Linked DNA regions of Homo sapiens: regions 1, 2, 4, 5 and 6 are each linked to region 3. Evidence: promoter capture Hi-C in 16 types of primary human blood cells and fetal thymus (Javierre and others, 2016). All regions are on one chromosome and are shown on one strand. The core of a region is centred on a gene start or on the middle of the fragment in contact, and the rest is flanking DNA. Distances in the headings are between cores, read along the strand shown.

What was found. Contacts are between HindIII fragments. The CHiCAGO score rates a contact against its expected background, and 5 or more counts as called.
Region 1: a contact is called between a fragment that was not itself captured here and the fragment with the promoter of ASB9 in region 3, in 2 of 17 cell types (non-activated CD4 T cells and total CD4 T cells). The highest score is 5.3, in non-activated CD4 T cells.
Region 2: a fragment that was not itself captured here is called in contact with the fragment with the promoter of ASB9 in region 3 in 1 of 17 cell types (non-activated CD4 T cells); the score reaches 5.9 in non-activated CD4 T cells.
Region 4: a contact is called between a fragment that was not itself captured here and the fragment with the promoter of ASB9 in region 3, in 2 of 17 cell types (naive B cells and non-activated CD4 T cells). The highest score is 6.2, in naive B cells.
Region 5: a contact is called between the fragment with the promoter of GEMIN8 here and the fragment with the promoter of ASB9 in region 3, in 1 of 17 cell types (endothelial precursors). The highest score is 5.6, in endothelial precursors.
Region 6: a fragment that was not itself captured here is called in contact with the fragment with the promoter of ASB9 in region 3 in 1 of 17 cell types (total B cells); the score reaches 5.9 in total B cells.

What each region holds. Positions count from the first base shown.
Region 1 is chrX:14,096,534-14,101,276 of GRCh38, reverse strand. No RefSeq gene overlaps it. Among named protein-coding and RNA genes, the nearest start is that of GEMIN8, 69 kb to the right of the region's middle. The HindIII fragment of the contact is 7,329 bases long and covers 1-4,743 here.
Region 2 is chrX:14,079,107-14,083,579 of GRCh38, reverse strand. No RefSeq gene overlaps it. Among named protein-coding and RNA genes, the nearest start is that of GEMIN8, 51 kb to the right of the region's middle. The HindIII fragment of the contact is 3,365 bases long and covers 239-3,603 here.
Region 3 is chrX:15,268,538-15,273,014 of GRCh38, reverse strand. ASB9 (ankyrin repeat and SOCS box containing 9) reads left to right here and starts at 2,932. Exons shown (of 7, transcript NM_001031739.3): 1 at 2,932-3,234. The coding sequence starts at 3,141. The HindIII fragment of the contact is 7,265 bases long and covers 1-4,477 here.
Region 4 is chrX:14,043,794-14,048,629 of GRCh38, reverse strand. No RefSeq gene overlaps it. Among named protein-coding and RNA genes, the nearest start is that of GEMIN8, 16 kb to the right of the region's middle. The HindIII fragment of the contact is 2,283 bases long and covers 274-2,556 here.
Region 5 is chrX:14,028,581-14,032,925 of GRCh38, reverse strand. It overlaps GEMIN8 (gem nuclear organelle associated protein 8), which reads left to right and starts at 3,034. Exons shown (of 5, transcript NM_001042479.2): 1 at 3,034-3,149. RefSeq lists silencers at 1-27, 2,694-2,833, 2,868-3,067 and enhancers at 2,444-2,944, 2,945-3,445. The HindIII fragment of the contact is 15,884 bases long and covers 1-4,345 here.
Region 6 is chrX:14,061,833-14,066,836 of GRCh38, reverse strand. No RefSeq gene overlaps it. Among named protein-coding and RNA genes, the nearest start is that of GEMIN8, 34 kb to the right of the region's middle. The HindIII fragment of the contact is 3,773 bases long and covers 1-3,616 here.

The DNA.
Region 1 (4,743 bases), core at 122-2,621, 1.2 Mb after region 3:
CAATGACCCTCCAGTGCTTTAAATAATGTCAAAACTATGTCCTTTGCAGCAACATGGATGCTGCTGGAAGCCCTTATCCTAAGTGAATTAACACGGGAACAGAAAAACAAATATATCATGTTCTCACTTATAAGTGGGAGCTAAACATTAAAGACATACAGACACAAAGATAGGAACAATATACATCACAGCTTACTTGAAGGTAGAGAGTGGGAGGAGGGTAAGGACCTATCAGGTACTATACTCACTACCGGGGTGATGAAATCATTTGGTATACAAACCCCAGTGACACACAATTTACCCATGTAACAAACCTGCACATGTACCCCCTAAGCCTAAAATAAAAGTTGGAAGAAAAAAAATAAAGTGAAAATAATGCTGGGCCTTGTTAGGAGGACATGGTGAACTCCTTGTGATCTATTTCCATCCATGTGTTGAACCTCATCTCTTGTCACTTCTCACCTCAGATTCTAGTTCTATCCAGGTTGAATAACTTGCACCTAATTGAGAGGGCCATGCTTCTGAGCACCAACAGGCCTTTGTATATTCTACTTTCTCTGCATGCCACTCCTCCCTATGGAACCCTTCCCTTTTCAAATTCTTGTTCCCTTGCAATTTCCTGCCCTCCCTGCCACCATCAACTGCCATCGGCAGACAAGGGTCAGATGGTGTTACAATGTGATCCTCCAGCACCCCGTGTTTATGACTGACCTGACACTTCTTTACCTGTTGTCCTCAGCTTTTCACTTGCCTATGTTTTCTAGCCAGCTACTTCCTAAACTTTAATGAACACAAAGATCACCTGGGCTTCTGGTTGAAATGAAAATCCTGGGCCAGGCACAGTGGCTCATGCCTGCAATTGCAACACTTTGGGAGGCCGAAGGAGGAAGATCACTTAAGCCCAGAAGTTTGAGACCAGCCTGGGAAACATAGCAAAACTCCATCTCTACAAAAAAGAATAATAATTAGCCAGGCATGGTGGCATGCACCCTTTAGTCCCAGATACTCAGGAGGCTGAGGCAGGAGGACTGCTTGAGCCCAGGTTTTTGAGGCTGCAGTGAGCTGTGATCATGCCACTGCACTCAAGACTGGGTGACAGGGCGAGACCCTGTCTCAAAAAAAAAAAAATCCTGATTCAGTACATCTGGGTGGGGCCTACAAGCCTACAGTTCCAACAACCTCCCAGATGACATTGATGCTGCATTGATGATCACACTTTGAGTACCCAGGTGCTAGACAGTGAGCGCCTTGATGTCAGTGAGCTCCTTGACGACAGGAATCCTGCAACCTGAAGTCTTTATATCCCCAACACCCAGCCCATTCTCCAATAGGTAAAATCTTCTTGCTGAATGTGAGTAAAATGAGTATATGATTGAATGAACACACCGGGATGCTCTGTCCCAATTACCTCACTTCTGCAACAGCTGAAGACTTTTGCCTCAGCTTCCTGTACTTGCCCAGGACTATGTTATAAAAAACATTTACTGCTATTGTGCAGCTCACTTCATATCTCATTCTCTTGTTCCAACATGTGATTCCCCTTCTCCAATTACTATCAGTGAGAAGATGAGAGACAGGACAAACTGGGATAGACAAGCAAAAGAAAGAGACATGGAGGAGAAAAGGAAGAGCAGGTGGGGAGTATAGATAAAAGGAGAGGAATAGAGAACGTTGGAGGAAGGAAAAATAGCCACTTCCTCCCCTCATATAATTTCAGCTCACACACTCATTATCTTTACACACCTGGACTCCCTCTCACATACCTTCTCCATATGCTGACCTTGACTTTCTTCATTTCTTCATTTATCCATTCATCACGTCTATCTTGCATCAGCCACTGAGCCAGGAATATATTCATAGGCAAAAACTAATGTAAACTTGGAGTTTACAACCCAGAGAGTAAGTAGAGAAAAACACTAATGAAATAAACAGCCAATGTAAAATTACAACAATGTTAAAAGCAAAGGAAGAATATGGAGAAAGAGTCAGAGAAGGTTTCTCCGGGAAATAGATGGTTGAGCTGAGAGCTGATGGGGAGCAGCAACTAAGCAGGTGAGGAAGGGAATGGAGTTTCATGGGCAGATGGCACCATATGTATTAAGGCACTGTGGCTAGGGTGAGCATGGCACATTAAAGAAACAAAAAGGCCAGAGAGTGTGGGGTCCTGGAAAAGAGGACTGGCCAGACAAGAAACTGTGTAATAACCAGCCTCCAAGATGGCAATCAATGATCCCTACCTCCTGGTATTCACACCCTTGTGTAGTCCCCTCCCAATTGTACCAGGGTCAGTCTGTGTGACCAACAGCATACAACAGAATTGATGGTGTGGCACTCTCGAGATTAGGTTATAACAACTATGGCATCTATCTTGGCCACTTTCTCACTTTCCTCTCTTTTACAACACTCACTCAGAAAAGCAAGCTGCCATGTTTTGAACAGCCCTAAGTAGAGGTCCACATAATCAACAGTCAGCAAGGAACTACATGAGTAAGCATAGAAGCAGATTCTACAGCCCCAGTCAAACCTTGAGAAGAAAGCAGCCCTGGCCAATAGCTTAACTGCAATCTTGTGAGAGACTCTAAGCCAGATCCACCCAGCTAAGCCACAACTGGATTCCTAATATTCAGAACCATGTGAAAGAACAAATGTCTGTTGTTTTCAGCTGCTAAGTTTCAGGATCATTTGTTACACAGCAATAGATAACTAATGCAATAAACCATGAAGTACCTCTTTAGCATGTTAAAGAGTGCAGGCCAGGCACGGTGGCTCATGCCTATAATCCCTGCACTTTGGGAGGCCAAGACAGGTGGATCACGAGGTCAGGAGTTCGAGACCAGTGTTGCCAATACGGCGAAACCCCGTCTCTACTAAAAATACAAAAAAAAAAAAAATTAGCCAGGCATGGTGGCATGCCCCTGTAGTTCCAGATACTGAAGAGGCTGAGGCAGAAGAATCGCTTGAACCTGGGAGGCAGAGGTTGCAGTGAGCCGAGATCACGCCACTGCACTCCAGCCTGGGTGACAGAGCAAGACTCTGTCTCAAAAAAAAAAAAAAAATGTGCGGGCCCTTGTTAACTTTTTTCCATGAGGAAAAAACAGGATATGGCAGTTAGTATCACTTCAGAAAACAGAGCGAAGCTCCTGGAAGTTCTGGGGGAAGTGGCAAGCCTATTGTGAATACAGAGTTAACAGTAGGGCCCCTTCATTTGTTCCCTGCAGTTCGTCATCATCCATCAATCTAGGTAGAATCCAGGTACCATGGGCTCAAACAAGTTACAATAAAATATGTCTTTCAAAAGTTTAATATCTTTTAGTGGTTTTTAAAACTTACTTTAGTAGTTAATCATAAGACCCTAAGTTATAGTATTGAAATTTAAGCAAACAAAAGGATAGACTGTTGCAGTTGTTCTACACACATTGGTGTGTGGGAAAGGACTGCTAGCTAGGGGTAATGCCTGCAGATCCCTCAAGGCAGAGGGAGTACACCTGTAGCACCTAAAAGGAAGGGCACCAAGCGACTCAGTAGAATGGCACTCTCTCACCTCACTAAGGGTTGTCACTTGCAAAGCCTGGAGCTGAATGTCTGGATTTTAAGGAAAAACTTTAACAGCTTGGCATCATAACAGCTATGAATCCTTGAGGAATCTTCCACTTACTGAAGAGAAAGAGAGACCTTGAGGAGATAGCTCACTTTCAAACTGATCCCTTATTAAGTCTTATTAACTCAGATGTTAGAATATTCTTCAGCACCCCGCACCTTTTCGCAGGACTTTAGGCTCATTTTTCTGCCTTAGCGTTCACTTTGAAAATGAACTATCTCCTCAAGGTCTCTGTTTCTTTTCAGTAAGTGGGAGATTCCTGGGAGTTGAACAATGAGAACACATGGACACAGGGAGGGGAACATCACACACCGGGGCCTGTCGGGGGGTGGGGGGCTAGGGGAGGGATAGCATTAGGAGAAATACCTAATGTAGATGATGGGTTGACGGGTGCAGCAAACCACCGTGGCACGTGTATACCTATGTAACAAACCTGCACGTTCTGCACATGTATCCTGCCCCCCTCCAAAAAAAGGGAACCAGATTTATATGTGTTAACAAAGACACATTTCAAAATATGTACTTTTTAATATAAAATCAAACTGTATAACTATAAGAAAAAACTAAACCTATCTGTAAATCAAGTTGAATTCAGCTGTTTTGTGCAGAAAGTAAATTCCCTTACCTGTGACTAACGATTAAAAATCCTAATCACCGTGAACTTTGAAACATGCACTAGAAATTTTATCATAATGGAAGATTTTTATTAAACATTTGTATTAAATGTTTCTATTTTTATTAAATATTTCTACCTAAGAGTAAAATTAGTTTTCACTGGGGAGAAGAGCACCATAGGTATAAAGATACTCAAGACGCGTATATAAATCTTCTGACGCCAATAGTTCTGTTCAAACCCTCACTTCCAGGTCAAAAAGAAAACCACGGCCTTGATAAAGACCCCACTGGAAGACTTTTATAATAAATTAGCCAATGTATGGGGTATACTGCCTTCATTCCCAAATTCTTCTGTTTGGAAAAATAAATTCTATAACACTTCACTCATATGAGAAAGGAAATGGATGTGACAATTGTACAATTTTGAGAAATAGAAGCTCTTAAGAGTAGCTTTTTAGATATCCATTGAAATCATACCCAATTTTTAGGTCACATTTTTTTTCTGGCTCTGTCTCCTTTTCAAGTAAGAG
Region 2 (4,473 bases), core at 672-3,171, 1.2 Mb after region 3:
TACCATCTGTTATTTGAGTGTAAAACAGATGTCTTTACCACCACAAGTGTCTTATGTTCTCTATCAGAAAAGGGGGAGGGAGTGTGGCAGGTAATACACTGATGATATTTTGATGTTGTTTGAGAAGTAAAACATAAAAGCCTATGGCCACTTCTTCCTAAAAATATGGCATAATTAAATGAAAATGATCAGTAAAGCTCCTGACCAACTTGTTTGGTAGTTCATGACCAACGAAGCTTAAAAATACAAAATGTTTTGACTGGGTGGGCTACGATTGCTTAAAAAGTGGGAGTGAAAATATCTGTAGTACTATTAGATATCCATGGTAGGAATTCTATCTTGAGATAAGAACAAGGTCAACACTTACTCAATAAGCCCCAAAGGCAATAGAAAACAGCCAAGCAATGCGGATTCATGACCCACGGGTAAAATTAAGTATCTATAACAGACAAAAACATCATGGGTGAAATTGAGTATCTATAACAGACAAAAACATCAGAGTACAGTACCTGAATCCTCAATCCCAGGGGTGTCAATAGAGAAGAGATGTGAGGGGAATCTGAAAACTTGCAGGTGTTTGTGGAATCTCCCCCTAAATACCAAAGAGAGCCTACTATAGAGGGATACATCAGAAACATAGAAAATGGGATTAATGAGAATGTCGATGACAGAAGCTCTAGTTGTTTTCTCAAATTTCCACTGAGAGATAAGCTATTGTAACTCAGGCAAGTGAGAACTGTTCCTTAAATGATGTGTACAGAAAAGGTAGTAGCAAAACAGCATAAGAAAACATGTATCAGTCCATTATACTAAAAAAGAAAATGGAATCATCCTGTTGAGGAAGAGTACCAGATAAACGTAAATTACTGTTATTATTTTCAATAATTCTGTCAAACTCATCTTAAAAGATCCTTCCCGCTATACAGGCACTTTGGTATATTTAAATTTTCTAGTTGTGATAAACAAGTGGTAACATGTGTCGTTATGATGGGTTATCAGTAAAACAGAGTGAAAAGCAGCACTTTGCAAATTATTTTCGGATCTGCCTTTAGAAAGTTTGCCCACAGGTAGAAAAGGATTACAGTGAATCTCAATTCAAATAGCTGATGCAAAATGTTATAGCTAAGGCAGTGTGTAACAAGACCAATAAACATTCCTATATATTTTGAACAGTAATTATACACTAAGGAGTATATTTTTAAATTAATCAGCAGAAAACAAATAGTAAGCATAAAGGTGTTTATGCATCAATAATCAAAGTAGAAGAAAACTAAAAATAACGTATGCCTAACAGAAGAATAGTTGAAAAAAGTCACAATATTTCAATTTAAATACCATTTGGCCATTAAAAACTATCATACTAAAGAAATATATAATACAAGAGATTTTGAAATACCATGAAAAATGCACAGTTAAGTAAATAAAGATATATATATACATATGTGATGCAAATGCATGTGTATATATACAGAGAAAGACATAGGGAAGTACTCAAAAATTGATATAATCAGGTTTTTTCTCTTTTTAAAAATTTAATGCTATTTTATATTATTTTATAATAAATGTTTATAAATTGGTATTTAAAGCACAATTATGACATATTTTGTTTAAAATGTTGACTGTAATAGACACAGTGCTAAATTCCTGACACAGATAATTTACCCTCTAATTTAGTCAAACCTCCGAGGAATCCAATAATAATTTAAGGCATATTCTGCTACATCTCTCACCATGCTGGCATACAAACACATGTATGTGGGAAAGAGGGCCTATTTTTTTCTACAAAACTTATACTCTACATCTTCCCCTGAAGACAGTTTTCTCCCCTTACTTGGTAATATATCACTCCATCTCTCCAGGTCAATATACATAATTTTTCTAGTAATAATTCACACTAAGAATTTGCACAATGAAAACGGCCATTTTTCTATTGTGAAACATTCAAGTTGTCTCCAAGTTTACAGCTACAAGAAAAAGCTGCCTGGATATACATATACCTTACGTTATGGTATGTTTAATTTAATAGGATACATTCCCAAAGCTGGGTTGCTAGATCAAAGACATATCCATTTTTAAAATTTTGACAAATATTAAAAGATAACTTTCCATAAAGGTTTTTTCATTCACCTTCCCATCAGCAATACACAAATGTCTGTTTCCGCAAATTGTTACTAATACTGAATGTTACCAATCTTTTAGGTTTTGCAATTGGACAAGTTAAGGTTGTTTCTCAAATCCACATTCCCTTGAATATTAAGGAGATTAAGCCACCTTTCATTTATTAACCATTTGCATTTTTCTATAAATATGAACATTCTTTTTTATTGTGTCATTTTTCCAATGTATTTGTGCAGGTTCCTTGTAAATTGAAGGTATTAACGTTTTACCTGTCATATGACTGCACATATTTGGCCCAGTTCATTTGTCTTCTCGTTGTTTTATTATACATTCTTGCATTAAGAAACATTTTTAAGTTTGTACATCTATTGATCGTTTTCTTGATTCCCTCTAAGTTTCCCAACTTGATTCCTAATCTCTACTCACCCACAAGTTTACAGAAACAAATATTTTTCTAAATTTTCTTCTAATATTCATAAAGATTTGATTTCACATTGAGCTATATTAATTCACCAGGTATATATTTTTATAAATGGTATAAGGTAGGCATTTATATTAGTTTCCTTCCAAATGGATAGCAAAATTATACCAACATAATTATTTATTTTCCTATTGAATTATAGTGCCAGATTTTCCAAGATTAACTTCTATATTATTGGATATGTGCTGAGGTTCTATGTCCCATTGTCCTGGTTATTATTTCTTATGCCATTGACATTTTGTTTTCATTACCATAGAATTATTATAAGTTTTATCTGATAACACAAGATCCTTACCCCAATTATTCTTCTGAAACATAAATTTTTTTGGCAACTATCATTTCTTCTGCCTATAATTTTTCTCATTCTAAAAATGTCTTCATTTGGATTCTGATAGGAATTATTTTGCGTTTACATATGCTTGGCAAATAATGACATTTATATAATAATGTCATTATTTAATAATTAATGAATGTCAGTATTCTAAGTCTTCCCAACAGTACATGGTGTGTTTCTTCATTTATTTAGGTATTGTTTCATGTCCTTCAACAAAATGTTAAGTTCCTTACTCTTACTATCTGATATAATGTAGATATTTTATAGCTTGAAGTAATATTGTGAATTAAATTTGTTATCCATTTCTTACAAGTTAGAAACTGATGTTTTAGACATGTCTTGTGCCTTGTTCCTACACGCATAGACAAGACCAGTTCAGCAAGAGGGCCAGTCTAGATATGTACCAGTAAGTGCCTCATCCCAGCCAGGATACCCCTCATCTATCTTGGAGTCATATGATTTACATTTGGTTACTGAGCAAAGAATAATACAGAACACTCAGGCATGAACACAAACCCCATTCATCATGCCCAATGTCTGCAGTCTGCCAGATCAGCCTGGTCTAAGTACTGTTCTGGTCATAGTTCTGTGCAACTAGAATGAGGGAAATTTCCCAGAAGTACCTGGGAGCATTGCTAACTAACCAGCCCTAGACTGGCTGTGGCAAGCTTTCATATAATCATTTGTTGAAAAGTTCCTTCTCTGTTGGTTTTGAAGCTATTAAGTATGTTATATGCGTGTGTGCATGTGTGTGTTTACTTCTAATATAAAACCATTTTGGGGATCTATTATTAGGGGAAAAATCAGCAACCTGGTCAAAAATTCATTTTAAAAAAGACTAAAGACATTTCACCTAAATGTCTAAAAACATAGAAGTAGTTAAATAAGCTATGGTACATCCTTCCAGAGGAATATGATATATCCATACAAAGAATAATTTCAGTCTATATAAAAGATATTTCAAAGAACATTTCACAGTATTGCAAACGCTCATGCTAGCATATTAAGTTCAAGAGAAATCTTTCAAAATTGCATATATAATTTGATATGCTTTTAGAGATAGAACAGAAAACAAAATAGGAAGTGTATACTAATATGCTATATGCAAAGGGATCAAAGTACTTTTCATATGTGTAAAGGAATTATACTGCTTTTTATTTTCCCAATTTTTACAATAATCATAATTAGGAAGAAAAAACTTTAAAGGATGCACTGTCTTTTACATTCATACTTATAGGATGATTCGGGCTGTTTGGACTTTCACTTAATCTTTTTTTTTTCCTCATTTACAATATGTATTAGTTTCCTAGGGCTGCCATAACAAAGTACTGCAAACCAGATTGCTTAAAACATCAGAAATGTATTATCTCAGTTCCTGAGACTGAAGTCTGAAATCAAGACATCAGCAGAGCCACGCTCCCTCGGAAGGCTCTAGGACAGGGTCCCGCCTCACCTATTCTAGCTTCTGAGGCTTGCCAGCAACGCTTGGTGTTCGTTGGTTTATAGATGTGCCATTCCAATCTCTGCCTGCGTCTTCACA
Region 3 (4,477 bases), core at 1,683-4,182:
TAGTGTGAACACTGCTCCTGGTGAGGAATGACTGTGGCCTTATCATCTGCTGCAGGCAACGATCATTCTGTTTTCTAACCTAACCTGTGCCAATTTCACTGAACATCCAGACACACACACTGACACACACCAAGGCTGACTAGAAGTTGGTAAGATTGCTTTTCTCTTATGGCTGTTGGTAAGCCAACCAATTTCTCCATAATCAAAGCTCATACACATGTGATTCAACTTTATCCTCATACAAATCCACAAATGCATGAACTCCCCTTGTAAAGAACTGTTGTTAAACAGTTTAAAAATTCATCTCCAATCCTCCTATTCACTGGTGTTGATCAACATCATAAATAAAATGAGAAGATTAAAGGCTGATGAATTAATTCCCTCCCAGGTACTAGGGAAACAACCTGGAAATCTTCTTTATTGTCATTTTGGAACTTAATTTTGAATATGGAAAAGGCTTATCTACTTGGAATTTAATTAAAAGTAAATAAAGAAGCTGTAGTACAAAGATTTTACTGGGAAGGAAAGGAAATAGTATCCAGTTTCCCCATTGTGCCCTTCTGTTCAACTCCTCATCCAGTCTGTGTTGGGAATCAATTCCTCACTCTCTGCCAAACAAATGTATCATTCTTCAGATCTTTCCTGATGGAGTGGTAAAGAATTTGTATGCTTATGGCCTTCTCAGTTAATTCTGCAAATAGAGATAGAGGGAAGTTTAGTAGTGTTTATCCAAATTTTAAATGAGCAGCCTCTTTTCAAAAAGTGCAATTTGTATTGAGATCATTACAGATTCACATGCAGTTGTAAGAAATCACATAGAGATCTCCAGTGCACTTTGCCCAGTTTCCCTCAATGGTGACTTTTTGCAAAACTATAGTACAATATTGTAACTGGGAAATCAACATTCATACAATCTACTGATCTTATTCAATTCCCCGGTTTTACTTGTACTCATTCCTGTGTGTGTCTTCAGTTTTATACAATTTATTACATGTGCATAAGTATGCCTTTGACTTAGCATTTCCACTCTTAGGAATCTCTCCTCTAGAAATATTTGCCTATGTGCACAAAGCCACATGTACAAAAATATGAACTTTAGTCCTTTCATAGTACTAACAGAAATAATGACATTCTGCTTGCATCATTAGGAGCATAATTAAATACTTCTGGCACAATATGGAATGCTATGCAACAGTGAATAAAGACAGGAGCATACCTATAAAAGCTGATATGGAAAGCTCTCACAGACAAAATAAGTGTAAAAAGCATAGAATAATAGAATAATATAGGGGCCGGGTGCGGTGGCTCACGCCTGTAATCCTAGCACTTTGGGAGGCCAAGGAAGGGGGATCACGTGAGATCAGGAGTTTGAGGCCAGCCTGGCCAACATGGTGAAACCCTGTTTCTACTAAAAATACTAAAATTAGCTGGGCACAGTGGTGCGCTCCTGTAATCCCAGGTACTCAGGAGGCTGAGGCAGGAGAATTGCTTGAGCTCAGGAGGTGAAAGTTGCAGTGAGCCGATATGACACCATGGCACTCGAGTCCAGGTGACAAAGTGAGACCCTGTCTCAAAAAAAAAAGAATAATATAGGTACATTTATGTGGAAAATGTAAATTGATAAATGTGCATACATGTGTATGCATATAAATGCCTTTAAAAACGTGAATTACACCCCTCAAACTGTTAATAACAGCCACCAAATGTTTTAACTGAGACTCCGTAAATCTAAAACATCTAGGCCTCATCTTTGGCATTAAGACAAATCTGCAATCACTTCACAGCCAGTCTATGCTTGAGACTTAACTCAGAGCCTTCCCCCATGGGGATGAAAAATCCTCTTCTACCTGGAAGAGAGGAATGGTGGGAGTCTAGAGGTGCCTGTCAGCCTGAAGTAGCACCCAGGGGTGTGAGGCAACTGGGTTTATCTGAAAAGACATGGACACAGTACATCCAAATTTTTTTTTTTTTGAGGTGGAGTCTCGCACTGTCGCCTGGGCTAGAGTGCAGTGGCATGATCTCGGCTCACTGCAACCTCTGCCTCCTGGGTTCAAGCGATTCTCCTGCCTCAGCATCCCGAGTAGCTGGGATTACAGGCGCCTGCCACCAGGCCCAGCTAATTTTTTTGTATTTTTAGTAGAGACGGGGTTTCACTATGTTAGTCAGGCTGGTCTCAAACTCCTGACCTCGTGATCCGCCCGCCTTGGCCTCCCAAAGTGCCGGGATTACAGGCATGAGCCACCGCGCCCGGCCCCTAATGTTTTGTATAAGCAAAAACAGCAAAACGTTAACAAAATAAATTTTAGTAATTCACAATGAAAAGATAGCAGGTCTCTTCCACATCTCAGGCCACCTAGCAATCCATTTTTCCAATTGCAACCGTTCATTATTTATTTAGAAGTTAAAATGAGTGGAGGAGGGGTGAGGTAGGACATTTAGTGAAATTCTTGCAGCTGAAAGGAACAAATGGTTCTTTCCAAAGGTACATTTTTTGTAACATATAGACACATTTCCCATAAGAAACTCCCAGCACAATTGAAAGCACATGTACAGATGGCCAGGGCGTGCTGTGCATGTTACTGTGCAAGCAATTCAGCAGGGCTGCTGCAAAACCAGCTTTCTCAGCTCTGGGTGCTCGGGCTTGTCTCCATAACAAGCTACCATGTAACAAACGGATCTCAGCAGGGTGAACAACAGTTGCAGAAAGTGAGCTGTTTCCTTCACCCCCACCCTGCTCCCTTCACTCTCAAAAGTTACAAACTGAGTTTCCTTCCTGATAAACTCCAAGGCTTCCTCACTGATTGGTCTCAGTTTGGGAAAGGACGTGACATCAGCAACTTCGCAGACTTAGGGCTGGAGGGTTCTTGTGGCCTCTGGCGGGCCTCCAGCCAGTTAGGTAAAACGTGTGTGTGTGTGTGTGTGTGTGTGTGTGTACACGAGCGCATGCCTCTCTCTGATCACAGGTAGCACTCAGATTACCCTGCCTGCTCTGTGCTTTGCTGCAGACCATTTGACCAGAACGTGTGCAGCTCAGCCAGCCACAGAACTGGAATTTTTCAGGAGCAGGGGGAGCATGGAGTTTGGACTTTGCTGAGCAACTGAAGTGGAGCGCAGAGCTTGCTCGCTTAGGAGAGAGCATCATGGATGGCAAACAAGGGGGCATGGATGGGAGCAAGCCCGCGGGGCCAAGGGACTTTCCTGGCATCAGGCTTCTTTCAAACCCATTGATGGGCGGTGAGTCATAGGGGCAGTGGAATCAGCCCTGGGGAGGTTGGCTAATGTGCTTAGGAGAGGAGGGTTGGGCAGTTTCAGTGGCTCTGTGTGAGGTGTCCATGGGGCTGTTACTGGGCAGATGTCCACAGCTCACTGGTATATATTCTTTACACAGCTGTTCAAAAATGTGTATACTTCTTTCTGCAGAATCCTACAGACAAGACAAATTCAATTGTCACAAATTATTCTCCAGTGAAAATTTCAGCTCCCAGGAATCATTCTTTGTGGGTCAAATGCATTATTTATTAAATTGGAGGTTTGAAAGTTACTTATAAATAGGAAAATTTTTAATGCTAAAACTTTTTAATTTGTAAGTCTTAGGTGTTTGGCATTTAGGTGGGGCAGGGTTTATAAAGATGTTCAAACATTGAGCACTGATTGAGTCACTTTCAAAAGAGACAAAAGAGACTTTGTTTTACTTAAAACATTGGAGAATCATCTTACAGGTATTGTTCTCATCTGTCAAGTGGTGTCTGTGCTAATGTACAGAATCCCACAAATACACACTTCGGTGAGCATTCAGCAGGTGCCTGTTGGCTGAAAGGATTCTGAAAAATGGGTTTAGGCATTTGCACACAGGTTCTTATAAATAATAGTATATTGGTTAGTAATATACTGGTTAACTCTCCAGCCCCAAGTCTGCAAACTTGCTGATGTCACGTCCTTTCCCAAACTGAGACCAATCAGTGAGGAAACCTTGGAGTTTATCGGGAAGGAAACTCAAAGTTCGTAACTTTCGGAGAGCAAAGGGAGCAGCAGGGTGAGGGTGAAGGCAACAGCTCACTTTCTGCAACTGTTGTTCACCCTGTTGAGATCCTTGGGGGCTTGTGACGGAGACAAGCCCCAGCACCCAGAGCTGGGAAAGCTGGTGTTGCAGCAGCCCTGCTGAATTGCTGTATTTATTATTTATTAATTTTTTTTTCTTTTTGAGACGGAGTCTTGCTCTGTGGCCCAGGCTGGAGTGCAGTGGCGCGATCTCGACTCACTGCAACCTCCGCCTCCCGGGTTCAGGCCTGTATATATAGGCGGGGCACGGTGGTTTACGCCTGTAATCCCAGTACTTTCGGAGGCCGAGGCGGGCAGATCACGATGTCAGGATACCATCCTGGCCAACATGATGAAATTCCGTCGCTACCTAAAATACAAAAATTAGCTGGGTGTGATGGCACGTGCCTGTAATCCCAGCTACTCGGGAGGCTGAGGC
Region 4 (4,836 bases), core at 166-2,665, 1.2 Mb after region 3:
GATTGCTTTGGGTGGTAAGACCATTTTAACAATATCAATTTTTCCCATCCATAAACATGAGCTATCTTTTCATTTATTTGTGTCATCTTCAATTTCTTTCAGTGTTTTATACTTTTGATGTAGAAATCTTTCACCTCTTCAGTTAAGTTTATTCCTATGTACATTTTATAACTATGCTAAATATAATTGTTTTCTTGATTTCTTTTTCAAATCATTTACTATCAGCATACAGAAATGCTACTGATTTTTGTATGTTTGTCAAACTAAGAAGCTTTTCCACAGCAACAGAAACAACAGAGTGAAGAGACAACCTATAGAATGGGAGAAAATATTTGCAAACTATACATCTCACAAGGGGCTAATGTCCACAATATATAAGGAACTTAAACAACAGCAAACAAAAACATAATCTGATTTTTAAATGGGCAAAAGACCTTAACAGACATTTCTCAAAAGAAAACATACAAATGACCAACAGGTATATGAAAAAATGCTCAGCATCACTAATCATCAGGGAAATGCAAATGAAAACCACAATGAAATGTGACCTCACTCTAATTAGAATGGCTATTTTCAAAAAGATGAAAGAAAACCACTCTTGGCAAGGATATGGAGAAAAGGGAACCCTTACACAGTGCTGGTGGGAATGTAAATTAGTAGAGTCATTATGGAAAACAGTATGGTGGCTCCTCAAAAAGTTAGAAATAGAACTACTGTATAATCCAGCAATCCCACTACTGGATATATATCCAAAGGAAATGAAATCAGTACATCAAAGAGATATCTGCACTCCCATGTTTACTGCAGCACTATCCATAACAGCCAAGACTTGGAATCAACCTAAATGTCCAAAAACAGATGAATGGATAAGGAAAATGTGATATATCTACACAATAGAATAGTATTCAGCCATTAAAAAGAGTGATATTCTGTCATTTGAGACAAAATGGACAAACCTGGAGGATATCATATTAATACATGAAATGAGCCAGACACAGAATGACAAATACCACATGATCTCACTGTTATGTGGAATCTAAGAAAAAGTGATCTCATAGAAGTAGAGAGAAGAACAGTGTTTATATCAGAAACTGGGGAGGGAATGGGGAAGGGCAGGATGAGGAGAGGTTGGTCAGTGTGTACAAAGTTAAAATTAGGCAACAGGGATAAGTTCTGGTGTTGTATTACACAGTAGGGTGACTATGGTCAATGGCAAAGTATTGTATATTACAAATTAGAAGAGAGATTTTTTAATGTTCTCACCACAAAGAAATGATATATGCATGGGGTGATAGATATGCTAGCTACCCTGCTTTGAACATTATACAATCTGTACATATATCAAAGCATCAAATTGTACATCACAAATATGTACAATTATAATGTATCAATTAAAGAATAAAAAGTTTTAAAAATAAAATAATCCAAATATTTTAAAATCTACATGCAGAAAAATCTACTTATAGTGGTAAAAAATTAGAAACAACTTAAATATCCCCACATAGAAGAAAGACCTAGCAAATTATGATATAGCCATTTGAAGAGACATTTTGAAGCCATACTAAAAACTATTGAATTGTGTATTTTAAATTGGTGAACTATATGGTATGTGAGTTATACCTCAATAAAGTTGTTATAAAAACATGCATAGTTTTGTGCACACTATGAGTACAGGAAAGCATATGCATAGAGAAAAATTCAAATTGTGTGATATGATTATATAATTATAATGACAAAAATTAAAAATGAATCTGATTCATGGACAGCAATCGACATAGGAATTTTCTACCTAATTTTGTGAGCATTCCATATTGTCTTCAGTAAAGATTCATTTATTAGTTTCAAGCCAGATTCAGAACACTTGGGGATGAGGACTGTGAATAGGAGGTGACTCTCCCTAAAAGCCAAATGTAGTATAATAGATTAGAAAGGTGACCGGCAAGCACACAGTAGGTTTGCACTAACTATTAGCTGAGCTTTATTTCTCACATTACATCCTGAGCCCTCTTCTCTCTTCTCCCTACAGTCTCCCTTGAAATCTCATTCTTTCCCATAACTTTGACTCCTTCTGTAGTAGTAAGTCCCAGATTTCTATTTCCAACACAGAGCTTTTTTTTCCCCGAATTTCAAACTCCTGTTGCTATCTGCTTCTTGTTAATAATAAATATAAAGTTTACAAATAAACCGTGTTAATCAGAAAACCAAGCACCACATATTCTCACTTATAAGTGGGAGCTGAACAATGAGGACACATGGACACAGGGAGGAGAACAATACACTGGGGCCTGTCGGGGCATGGGGCCGAGAGCATTAGGGAAAAGAGCTAATGCATGCTGGGCTTAATATCTAGGTGATGGGTTGATAGGTACAGCAAACCACCATGGCACATGTTTACCTATGTAACAAATCTGCACATCATGCACGTGTACCCTAGAGCTTTCAAAAATAATAATAAAATAATAAATAAATAAACTGTGCTCATTGCTGTTAAGCACTTTCCCTTAGAACCTGTACTTAAAAGAATCTCTTTGACTTTTATTTGGCTGAATACAAGCTTTTTATTTGAATACTCCAACCCAATACAATTGTCAAGCTAGTGGTGAGCTGGGGGAGGAAAGTGAAAAGTGGGAGAAGGAATTTAACAGTGTGCTGTGTAACTATCTCCTCTGAATTCCCACTTAAAATTGAAAGCATGTACATGTTCAAAGACAACTCCAGCCTCCAACCCCTTTTTCTCTTCTCCCACTGAACCACGGAATATGAACTCAGATTATCAAGAGATATATCAAACAAATTATCTCAGGGATACTGACAAAAGGCCATAAATGCCCCAGAACAGAAAGACACATATTGTGGTAATAATTTGCACTGTATTAATGCTCCAAATGCATTATCCCATTTAAACCTCCCATCAACTCCAAAGTGGGTGCTAATAATATCTGCATTTTCACATGGGATTCAGGCAAGAATACATTCAGTAAATTGCTCAAGATTACACAGTTAGGAAGTAGAGAAATAAGACTTTGAATGCAGTCAGACTCTAGAGCCTCACTCTGTAGATCAGGGTTCCTTTACCTCAGCACTAGTGACTTTTGGAGCCAGATAATTCTTTGCTATGGCTCTGTCCTGTGCATTGTAGGATGTTGAGCAGCATCCCTGGCCTCTACCCAGTAGATGTCAAAAACAACTCCCCAGCAGTAACAATCAAAAACATCTCCAACATTGACAAATGTCTCCTGGTGGGAAAAAATTGCCTCCAGTTGAGAAATACTGCTATAGATGGGGCAGGGGGAAACTTGCTTAGAGATTAAATACATTGCCAATCTATGACAACTGGTAAATAGCCCAATCTGCATTCAAACTGAGAATGACCTGACTCCATATGCCATTATGCTATATTGATCAACTTGGCAAAAATAAAACAAAATGAAACAAGAGCAAAAAAAAACAGATAGGAATAAAATAAAACAAATAAACTATTATTTTGGAATGATTTGCTTCCATTTAAAGAAAAAGAAACAGAAACAGTCCCTAAAGACTGTTTAAGAAAAAGACTGTTAATGATTGTTAAAGAAAGAGTCCCTGAAATACTTAAACTTAACTAAGAGTAAGCAGAGATGTTCTATAAAGTAGTATTTCTCAAAGTTGGCTACATATTAGAACTATCTAGTGAGCTTTAAAAGTACGGATATCTGGGCCTCATCCCCAAGAGATTCTAGTTTAATTGGTCTGGAATGTGACCTGGGTTTGGGATTTTTAAAAGCTGTTCAAGTGTTTCCAATATGAATTCAAAGCTAAGAACCACTGCTGTAAAGGATTCAACTAGTATTTTATTTCTATGGGTCTTATCAATCATGCATATTAAATTGATTACATACATTTAGTTTAATAGAAAACCAATGGATACCTAATAAATTGAGAGCGTACATTACCCTTAACATTCACTGAGCTACTGATCACCAAATTTGTAGATGTTTATAGGATCATATAGCCAGAAGAGAAAGTATTCTCTAGTTCCTAACCTTTGGACCATCTTGTCCCCCATCATCATTTCCAACAAAAAATTAGCCAAAATTTGAAAGGGTACTGTTATTTCATGATTATTCACAGTGCTTTCAAAGTGTGATGGAAGAATATTTTTTCAGTTATTGGGTAAAATGTGATTTTGGAATGGTTTCAAGACTCTAAACACTTTATTTTGGCTTATTCCAATATGTGTGATTAAGTAATTTTTCTAAACATTAACCTTGTCACTACTACCATGAATAATTCAGAATTCAATAGATACATTCATTTCTAATATGTAATATGTTCAGATAACAATAAGACACCTTAGGTTTTCATTACTGTAGCCGTCAAACTACGGAAGTGATAACATTTGCTTAAATGGCTTTCTATAACAATGACCAGCAAATCTAGCCTAATGTAGACAACACTGTTATTCACTCCAAATATACTCCCTTTCCTTCCATAGACAGTCTATGCCTGCACATGGCAAGCAATAAAACAGTATGAACATTCAGATAATTTATCCAGTGTTGATGATCATTTCTAATTACACTGTACAATAATTTGTCCAGTGATTAGCATTGATTATTACAAAATGGTCACTTCTCAAACATTAATCTAAGCTGACAGGCTCAGAACACAATACCCCAAAATACAGTAGCTTGGCAATTGAGAAAATGGCAGAAGCAGGAAGGTCTCTCTCATCTTCTCCCACCATTCTCCCCTGAAACAGGCCATAGAATCTAGGAAGGTCAGTCTCTGACCCTCTCCTTCCTTTCTCCCCTGAAGACCCTCATATGACAGGTGTCCTGCCCTATACCTAGAGGA
Region 5 (4,345 bases), core at 1,785-4,284, 1.2 Mb after region 3:
CTCAACCAGGAGCCATTCCCCACACCCTCACCCTAGGGACATTTGGCAATGGCTGGAAACATTTTTGATTGTCACAAATGGGGGCAGGGAGGGACATCCAGTGGGCAGAGGCCAAGAATGCTTCTAAATATCCTACAATGCACAGAATAGTCCCCACAATGAATTATGCAGCCCCAAATGCCAATAGTGCAGAAAGTGAGAGGTCATGCTTTAGAGTTCCTCATCTGACAGGATTCTTTAAAGTTTTGCTATAATCCATTTAAAATTTGAAGCATATGCCTGAGAAAAATTAAATACTGAGGAATTGCCATTTGTAAATTTCCACCAGGTGGCGCCAAATGACAAGTGAAAATCCAACCTCCTCTAGCCTCCATTTCAAAATTCAGTTTCTCTCCCTGGTTAACCCCCTGGAGTAACAATCCCCATTCTTTTCAAATAGGATTGTCGCTCCTTAGGTGCTTAGTGTTCCCCACCACCAGTATTTTTATGCAAGTGAGTTAAAGTGAGTAATGACTAAAACTCAGACTTAAAGATGAAAAGAACAGGACTACATCCTCAATCAGCTACAGAATTTCCATTCCCTGCAGCAACAAGGGTATGGGAGAATCAGCTAGTTTCTTTTCTTCTTTAGTCAACTTTTAGCTGGGCACTTGGCCATCTGAAAAAGACAATTCCAAGCTCCTGCACCCTTAGGAGGGCTAAGTAATGAAGTTCAGGCCATTAGTAGGAAGTGATCAGAAGTGCTGTGGGCCGCCTCTGGGTAGTACTCTTAAAGCAGTGGTTCTCAACTGGGGGTGACTTTGCCCCCTCCTCCCCCAGCCCAGGAGACATTTGGCAATGTCTGAGGACATTTTTGGCTGTCACAACTGGGAGACAGTACTGGCATCTTGTGAGTAGAGACCAGAGATGCTACTAAAACTCCTACAATGCACAGGACAACCCCCAAAACACAGAATTATCCAACCCCAAATGTGAATAGTGCCAAGGTGGAGAAATCCTTAGAGGGAAAGGGCATGCCCTTGGCTTTCTCTTTCCCACTGGCTGAAAGGTGCAGTGGTGCACCATCTTGGACCATGTGGGCCAAGGCAAGAAACCAGGGAGGGTGGAGCTATGAGACAGGTGGAGCTGCCATACTCTGGACTCCTTACACCCAGACTGCCATGAGATAGAAATACACTTCTCAACAGTTTGAGCCACTCCTCTTCTGGGTCTCTGTGACAGCAGCCAACTAATATTCTATCTAATGCCATAGTATACCATATATATTGTATTTTTTCATTCATAGAACCAGGAATCACTCTACCTGAACTATATCCACTCTAGGCCTGCATCCTTCTGCCTTTCCCAGGAACCCCCTAAGCTCTTTCTCCCTATCTTACCCCTCTCCATCTTTCTTTCCTGCCTCTCTAGATGCTGGCTTCTTCCTTGAGGTAGAGATTGCACCAGGCCCCATCTGACTTATCTGTCTCAATCCACACCTGACTTTTCCCATAAGACTTCACCCTCCTACCATCTCCTGCTTCTATCCATAGATATCTCATTTCCTCCCACATCCATTTTCTGAGGTGGAGGAATAATCTTTTCTAAAATAATCCCCCTCTATATACACATACTTTCTGGCCCTTACCCTGCTATACTGTCTTCATATAACTCACCACAACATACAATTCTATTTATCTGCTTATTGTCTATGTTCTACACAAAAGATTTAATTTTATGAGCCCCAAAACTGTATTGTTTACTACTGTGTATCCGGTAAATAGAATACCACGGTACAATAGAAATGCAATGCATGCCACATATATAATTTTAAATGTTCTAGTAGCCACACTAATAAAGTAAAAAGATAAAGATCAAATTTTAGTCTTTAACCTCAATAGTCCTTCTCTAAGATGTTATCACTATAAAGAAATTGAGGTATTTTACATTCTTTTTCTCATTCTTCTTCAAAATCTAGAGTGTAATTTACCCTTACAGTGTATCTCAGTTCAGACTACTACAATTCAGGTTCTCAGGGCCACATGTAGTGGTTACAATGGACAGCGCTAACATAGAATACTTGGCACATAGCCGGCATCCAGTAAATATTTGTTAAAGTTAATATTCTTCTATACCATTTTAATTCTTCTGTAGTCCAGGAATAATACAGTAATGTCACGTCATTAATACCACCCAATTGACTTAGCCATTTCCTTGTTGGGCATTTAGGTCTTTTCCAATTTTCACTTTTTAAAATAATTCTGTAATAAACATCTATCTGGTTCGTACCTGTTTTTCCTTGGAATAAATTCCCAGAAAGTATTAAATATGGTAATTGCCCCAGAAATGATATGTCACGTAAGACTTCTAATTGTTTATGCTTGGTTCTTGTTAATGACTCTTGTAATGTTAACAGGGCAGGTATTGCTGTGATGGTTATAATTACAAACATATTAGTACTAATGTTTTGTCTGCTGCAATGCATCAGGCACTCTGCATTAGGTTATGCATATCTTATAGATGAGACACACGAGGCTTGGGGAAGTTACAAACTTAGCACTGGACTCGCACTCAAACTGAGATCTGGGTTAATCTATTTTCAAAGACTGGGTGTTTTACGCTGGGACAAATTAAGAAACTAAAACTGTTTTAGTTAAGAAAGAAAACAGAAAGGAAGAAAGAAAAGGCTAAGTAAAGACAAGGGAAGGAAAACGAAGAAAGCTGAGGAAAGGACAAAAAGTTAAAGGCTGGAAACCCGGGCGGTGCAGAAGCGACCCTTATCTCGCCGGTGCAGAAGCACCGTCCGACCCCCGGCGCGGGTGCCCGCCACAGTCCCAGTGCCCCGCCCGGTGCAGCTCCCTCTCCGCCGGCCCCGCCACCCGCAGCCATCCCACGCCTGCCGCCCCGGCGCTCCACTCGGGGTAGCCGATTAGCAGGCAGCTTCCGGCCTCCAGCACTGCACCGCCTGCGGTGCGAACGTGACGTCCGCGACACAGGGGGGGACTTCCGGCGCGCCGCGCCACGCCACGTGTTCCGCACCGGAAGCGCGCTTCCAGTCGCCCCGGCAACAGCCGCCTCCCTCGCGTCCCCCACTCCCCCTCTGTCTCTCCAAGGAAAACTAGGCCCCTGCGCGGCCAACGCCCAGGATCCGCAAGCTGCGCGCCCACGAGGTGACTTCGGGGACGGCTGGGTTTCCTTTGGGGAGTGAGGGAGGAGCTTAGACGCCCCGGGCCCTGGCTTCTTCTGATGCGCAGAGAGCCGAGGTCTTGGACGTCACGTTGCTCTCATAATTATCTTAATCCCGCGACAAAAGGTGGGGCCGGAGGCCCATGAGATTCCTAAATCATTGCAGGTTAATTGTGAGAGGGGACCAGTCCCAGAGGCTCTCAGCTCTGCAGTGCTTCCGAATCACTGGACGACTCTTTAAGAATTCTGATCCCCGGGCCCCCATCCCGGACCAATGAAATCAGAATCTCTAATAGTGGGGCCCTGGCATCGGTAGTTTTTAAAGCTGCCCAGGTGATTCTGGGGTGCCGAGAACCACCGTGTTAAGGTCTGTAGGTGAATTCGGATTTTGCCCATCCAGTCCAGTATCTGAATAGAAGATCGCCCAGGACAGCCACATACTTGAAGGATGTCTAGGATATTGCCCTCTCTGCTCAAAAATTCGGGTTTCTTTCTTTTCTCTTGCACTTTAACCTCTGCAGGAGGTCAGCTTTTGGTGGGAGTTATCTTGAGACATCTGGCGCCTACAGTTTATGGGCCTTGTGTCTCTGCCCACTTATCAGTAATGAGCTGTAATTGAACCAGTGGCCAACGAAGTGCATTTTAGCTCTGAAATCTTGATGTTCCCTTAGTACAGATCAGATGGTTCTGAACAATTTTATTTTTTTCAGGAATGATGTTTTTAAACTCGTTTGACAGGCTAGGCTGTGTATTCAGCTGTTCTTCATCTCAAATCAGAACAATATTACTTAAAAAATCTAGACTAAAGATTAGTAACGCAACACTTCTAGGATTATTTATGCTCACAGCCCCCATGAATTGTAGGATGAGAGCTACCCTTTAAAAATACTATTTTTGCTAGCATAATTTATCGGAATAACAGTCTCTTTGTAATTTCAATGTGAACAGAAACCATATATTTTTAAAGACTGCTGGTTAGTAACTTGGAATAAGCATAACTGAAAGCAAGTTCACAGGTGTATAAATCCCCTCTGTGTGTTCATTGCTGTGCTGGGGAAGTATACAAACTAAAGTTCCAGAGAGAAATGTTCATTCTGAAACTGTTCTATAGATGGTGATTAATCATTTTGGGTTTTTTTTTAAAGGATAGGGTGAGATGAGAATGACGGGGGAAAGTTTT
Region 6 (5,004 bases), core at 481-2,980, 1.2 Mb after region 3:
AAATTATCTCATCTTGGCCGGGCGCGGTGGCTCACGGCTGTAATCCCAGCACTTTGAGGGGCTGAGGCAGGCGGATCACTTGAGGTCAGGAGTTCGAGAACAGCCTGGCCAACATGGTAAGACCCCATCTCTACTAAAAATACAAAAATTAGCAGGCAGTAGTAGCGCATGCCTGTAATCCCAGCTACTCAGGAGGCTGAGGCAGGACAGTCGCTTGAACCCAAGAGGCAGAGGTTGCAGTGAGCGGAGATCGCACCACTGCACTCCAACCTGGGCAACAGAGCAAGACTCCAAGAAAAAAAAAAAAAAAATATATATATATATATATATATACACATATCTATATATCTCATCTTGACCCAGGGCTGGCTATACAATTTGCAGAGCTCAGTGCAAAATAAAAATGAGGCTCCTTGCTGGTGTGGGCGGGGGGGGGGGGGCGGGCGGCGGGGGTGAGACAGGAAAAAGTGCACTTAACGTTATTATAATATGAAACTTTTTTTTCCCTTCTTCACTGTTTCTCTCAATCCGTGGTGGTAACTTTTATTTGCTATTTCACGCCAGGTTCAGGCACAGGGTAATGAATAAGGTGAGTTACAGCCCCTCTCAGGCTCCAGGGCGTGGGTAGGGATGGGGGGCGTCTAGGTTGGCAGTGTCTCAAGTGTCCTTCTGGCGGGGATCCATCTCCCCTTCCCAGTCGACCGTCATAGCCACCCACTGCTGAAGAGCAACCCCCTCAAGGCATGAAAAGCCAGAGGCCAGGACCCCCTCAGGCCCAGGGCTACTGATGGGTGGGCGTCCCACCCCTCCTGACGGGCCAAGGTCCGTGATGACGGCAGCCACGCCTCACCCGCGAGACATCGCGGGGCCTGCACTCAACCCAGCCCTCTGCACGCCCACGTGCTAGTGCCCCAAGCAGAGGGTGGCCGATGGGCAGGGCAGGTAGGCGCGGACACCAGGGACTGGGAGGTAGGGCTGCCCCTGCCCACCCCCATGCTCCGTCGTCTCCCCCCACCTTCGCTTACAAAACACATTGCAAGAGATAACGCTGCAGGCTTCAAGATGGCAACTGCAGAGGCTTGAATCCCAAGTGCGGGGTTCTTCGAAAGGCAGGGCCCTGTGCTGCTGCGGTGGCTGCAGGCCCCTGAAGTCGGCCCTTCCTTGACCTAGAAGTAGATACTGTCGTCACACGGCCTGCCCCTTTCAGATTCCCTTTCTAGGACCCGTGCTTCCATTGCCGGGTCCCAGCACTGTCCCTCGACTTCTGTAGCCACTTCATCCTCTCGTCCAGGGAGCAGAAATGCCTGGGAGCTCACTTCCTCCAAAAGCCAACTGCAGCCAGCAGTGACCGTAGGAATATGGAGGCCTAGCTCCCTGGCCTAGAGGCTCTGAGCCTTCATTGATCCTCCAGAGCTCCCCAAGGATCAGGCTGAGGCAGGGACTTCCCTGGCCTGTTCTCCTGCCCTCACTTCCTGAGAAACTCACGGGCTCTTAGATTCTCCTGTCAGCGTCTGCTGCCGGGGAACCTGACTTCAGACAGACTTTTCTTTCGCTGCTTTTAGATAATCGTATCATTTATTCAGCGCTGTCGTGTACCAGGCATGGCGCTGAACGTTTCATCCCATGAGGCAGCCCGTGTCTTCCTCCGTGTGCAGCACAGCAATCGATGATTCGCTTGGAATGAATAGCGCAAACGTAAGAGAGCAGTCGTAATTTACAGAGCTGAATGTTTGCATTGAGGGAGTGGTGTGACTCATCTTGGGTTAGCAAGGCGCTTCAGATAAGGAATTGCCAGTCATTAAGGTTCTTCTTTCAGTGTTATTCAGACAGTCAGAGTGCTCCCTAGCTAGGATTTAAAGAAGCTGAAGACTTCATTTGCTGCCTTTAAGCCAAAATATTAAGATAAGCATAAAGTCCTCACTTAGACATGACCATATGTGACACCAAGGAGCAGAATCATTTATTTTGCTCTAATGGAGTAAGTGAAAGAAACACCATCAAAAACAATACACTGAATGCAAAGGCACAGTGCACTCTGTCATTCTCTTAAAAAGCCACGTTTTATTCAGATGGATAATACTAGCTATCCTAGAGAGAACAGAAGGTGGGGAAAGGCCTCTCTTAAGGAGGCAATTGGATCATCAAAGAATGTCTTTGATTCGCAAGAGTTTGCTTGAATTATGGAATTATGTCTTAACACCCTTCACTCCTGTCATCATCGACAATGTCATTTTTCTCCTTTGAAGTCAAAGCCTGACTTTTCCCTTTTCAACACCAAAAGTTAGCAGCTGTTCCCACATGAAGGTGAAAATGCTGAACAAAATGCTTTTTAAATTGAGTCATAGGTATATTTTACCTAAATGATGACTACTTACAAAAGTTTTAGTTATGTTCATTTAATAAGTCTATATTTTAGCAAACTTAGAACATATAATCCCATAGAAATAGGATTCAAGGGCAAGACAATCAAAAGGCCAATTTAATCCATTAGGTAAAGAAATTTAATATGATAGTATTATTTTGACTCCAACTAATTCCCATTAATTTCTATGGGATATTTGTCCACAATGTCCACATGATATGCCCCAAATCTGGCTTCTTGGCAGTAGCACCTTGAAACAGAAGGGTCATGGGGTACGGTAGACAGATAGTCCAAGGCAAAAAAAAAATGTTTAACCATTTACATCTGTATAGGTATTATGTAGATACTTTTTAATTTTTGAATACATGCTAAATTTCCAAGGTTCAAAATTCAAAGTTACAAAAGGGCATACAGCAAAACGTCTTCTCTCAGCATGCCCATACCTACCCAATGTCTTTCTCATGTTTCTTGTTTTTCCTCCAAAGATTTTCTCTGCATGCCCAAGCAAATATGAATCCTTTTTATTTTCTTTTTATATCCATACTGTATACACTGGAATGTTTCTTGCTCTTTTCCACTTAAGGATAATGGCCCATTTTAATCAGAGGCCACATCAAATTTAATGCACTGCCAAAACAGGAGTTACTCAAAGTGACATCCACTGTACAACCAGTATGAGAATCACCAAAAGCAGATGCCTGGACCCAGCTTAGACTTACAGAATCAGAAATATATACACACTAGAATGTGTGATCTGAGGAAGTAGAGAAAAGTACATTGGCTTTCAAGTCAGATCTGAATTGGATTCAAATCCTGTTACTGTGCGTGCCGCTTGGCACTCTCATCTGAGCAATGGGGATAATGATGTCTACCTTTCCATGCCACTGGGAGGAAGAGAGGTAAGTTGCATATTTCAATTAGGAACAATCTCAGGAACTGGTTTATGAATTCACAGGCACCCATACCCAAAGGTTGGCTCTGCCTTTCCATTCCACTCTACTAGACTTTCCTTTGCCTCCCAGATAAACTGCTTGCATTCAAATTCTTGTCTCAACAGTCTTCTAGGGGAATCTAAGCTGAGACAACACCTTTCCATAGCAGGAAGGATGAAGAAGGATGCTGTGAAGATTAAAAGAGTGAATGTCTATAAAGTGTTAGAAAGTTGCCAGGTATATAATAAGCACTACATGTGTTTGTTTCATTAGTATTATACTATTATTATCACTACATCTTCATTTTTAGTGGTGGCAAGCTTACTCCTAATAATTGTCCCAAATGCATCCTACCTTGTTTCACTAAGGAATAGTTTGTTCACCAAGCAATTGGGAATGGCCCATCATTTGCATTCCCCATAGGCTATAGCAGGCATTTACCCTTGGTGATAATTCATAGAATTTCAATCGCATGTATCTGAATTACATTATTTTGTTGTAATCAGTCTCCAAAGCCTTCACGCTCTTCCCTCTCACTCAGATATGGGGCATGCCTTATTAATTAAATGACAAAGTTATTACAGCCAGTAATTGAATTACTCCATAGCTCCTGCCTGCAGTAATTAACATCTATCAAAATAAAAGAGGAGGAGCTGTGTCACCCTTATTACAAATGGTTTGGTTTCATGGGTTTTTGATCAAATTAAATAGAATCAAACTAACAAGCGATTGGATTAAGCCAAAAGTCATTGTACTTATATTGCCCTTATTTGTTCCTGGGCACAACTGAACACTGAGAATCCACTTTATAGGCTACATATTTTTCCTTAACAAACTTCCTCCTTCTCAGTGCAGACTCAAGAATGTGACTGGGCTTTCAAACTGATGAACAGTATTCTCATCAGACTATATTCAGTAGCTGTTTTGCACACAAGAAACTATTTAAAAGTAAGTCAAGAACAACCAATTAAATCTAAAAATGATTCTGCAGCCACTGTACCAATTATAGGCATAACCAAGGAGCAGTTTATGTACAAAAATACTCATAAAATCCGAATCATGTCAGAGTCGTTCGACAGCTATCAATTGTTATTAGTGTACAGCAAAACAGTAATGCCGGCAAGTGCTGAGCAGGCCAAAAAATGAATCAAAAGGATGTTTTCTCATGAATAGGCAAACAGATTGTCTCTCATAAACAGACACACAATTACATGCAGGAAAAGGATGGAGAGAAAGGGATAAAGGAAAGGGAAAGGAGAGGGAGCCCTAACTGTTGAGTGATACATGAGAAAGAGAAGATATACCACTCCCCCAAAAAAGAGCTGTCCATCAAAGCATATCCCCACCAATATTCAGAGCATCACAAACCACAAAAAAATAAAATTAAATCTGTATTTGTAACAATATTCATGACAGCTATAGACCTCAACAAAAACGTGGACTACTTTTGCTCTTTACTGAAATCCACAAAGACAAAGCCTGCTTTAATTGGAATCTTCCTCTTTTTAGATGCTGTTCCCTCACCCCATTCTGGTGCATAGGCAAACACACATGCAATCCCTCAACAGTTGGCTAAAAGTAGCTTACATAAACTTGTTCTAGTTTAGGTTGCCTGGGATAGTACTGTTTATGGCTATTGTGTCAGCTACATTACTAATAGTATCATTTTCACTCTCACAGGTGTTCTGGTTCAGAGGCTGGGGATGAGGA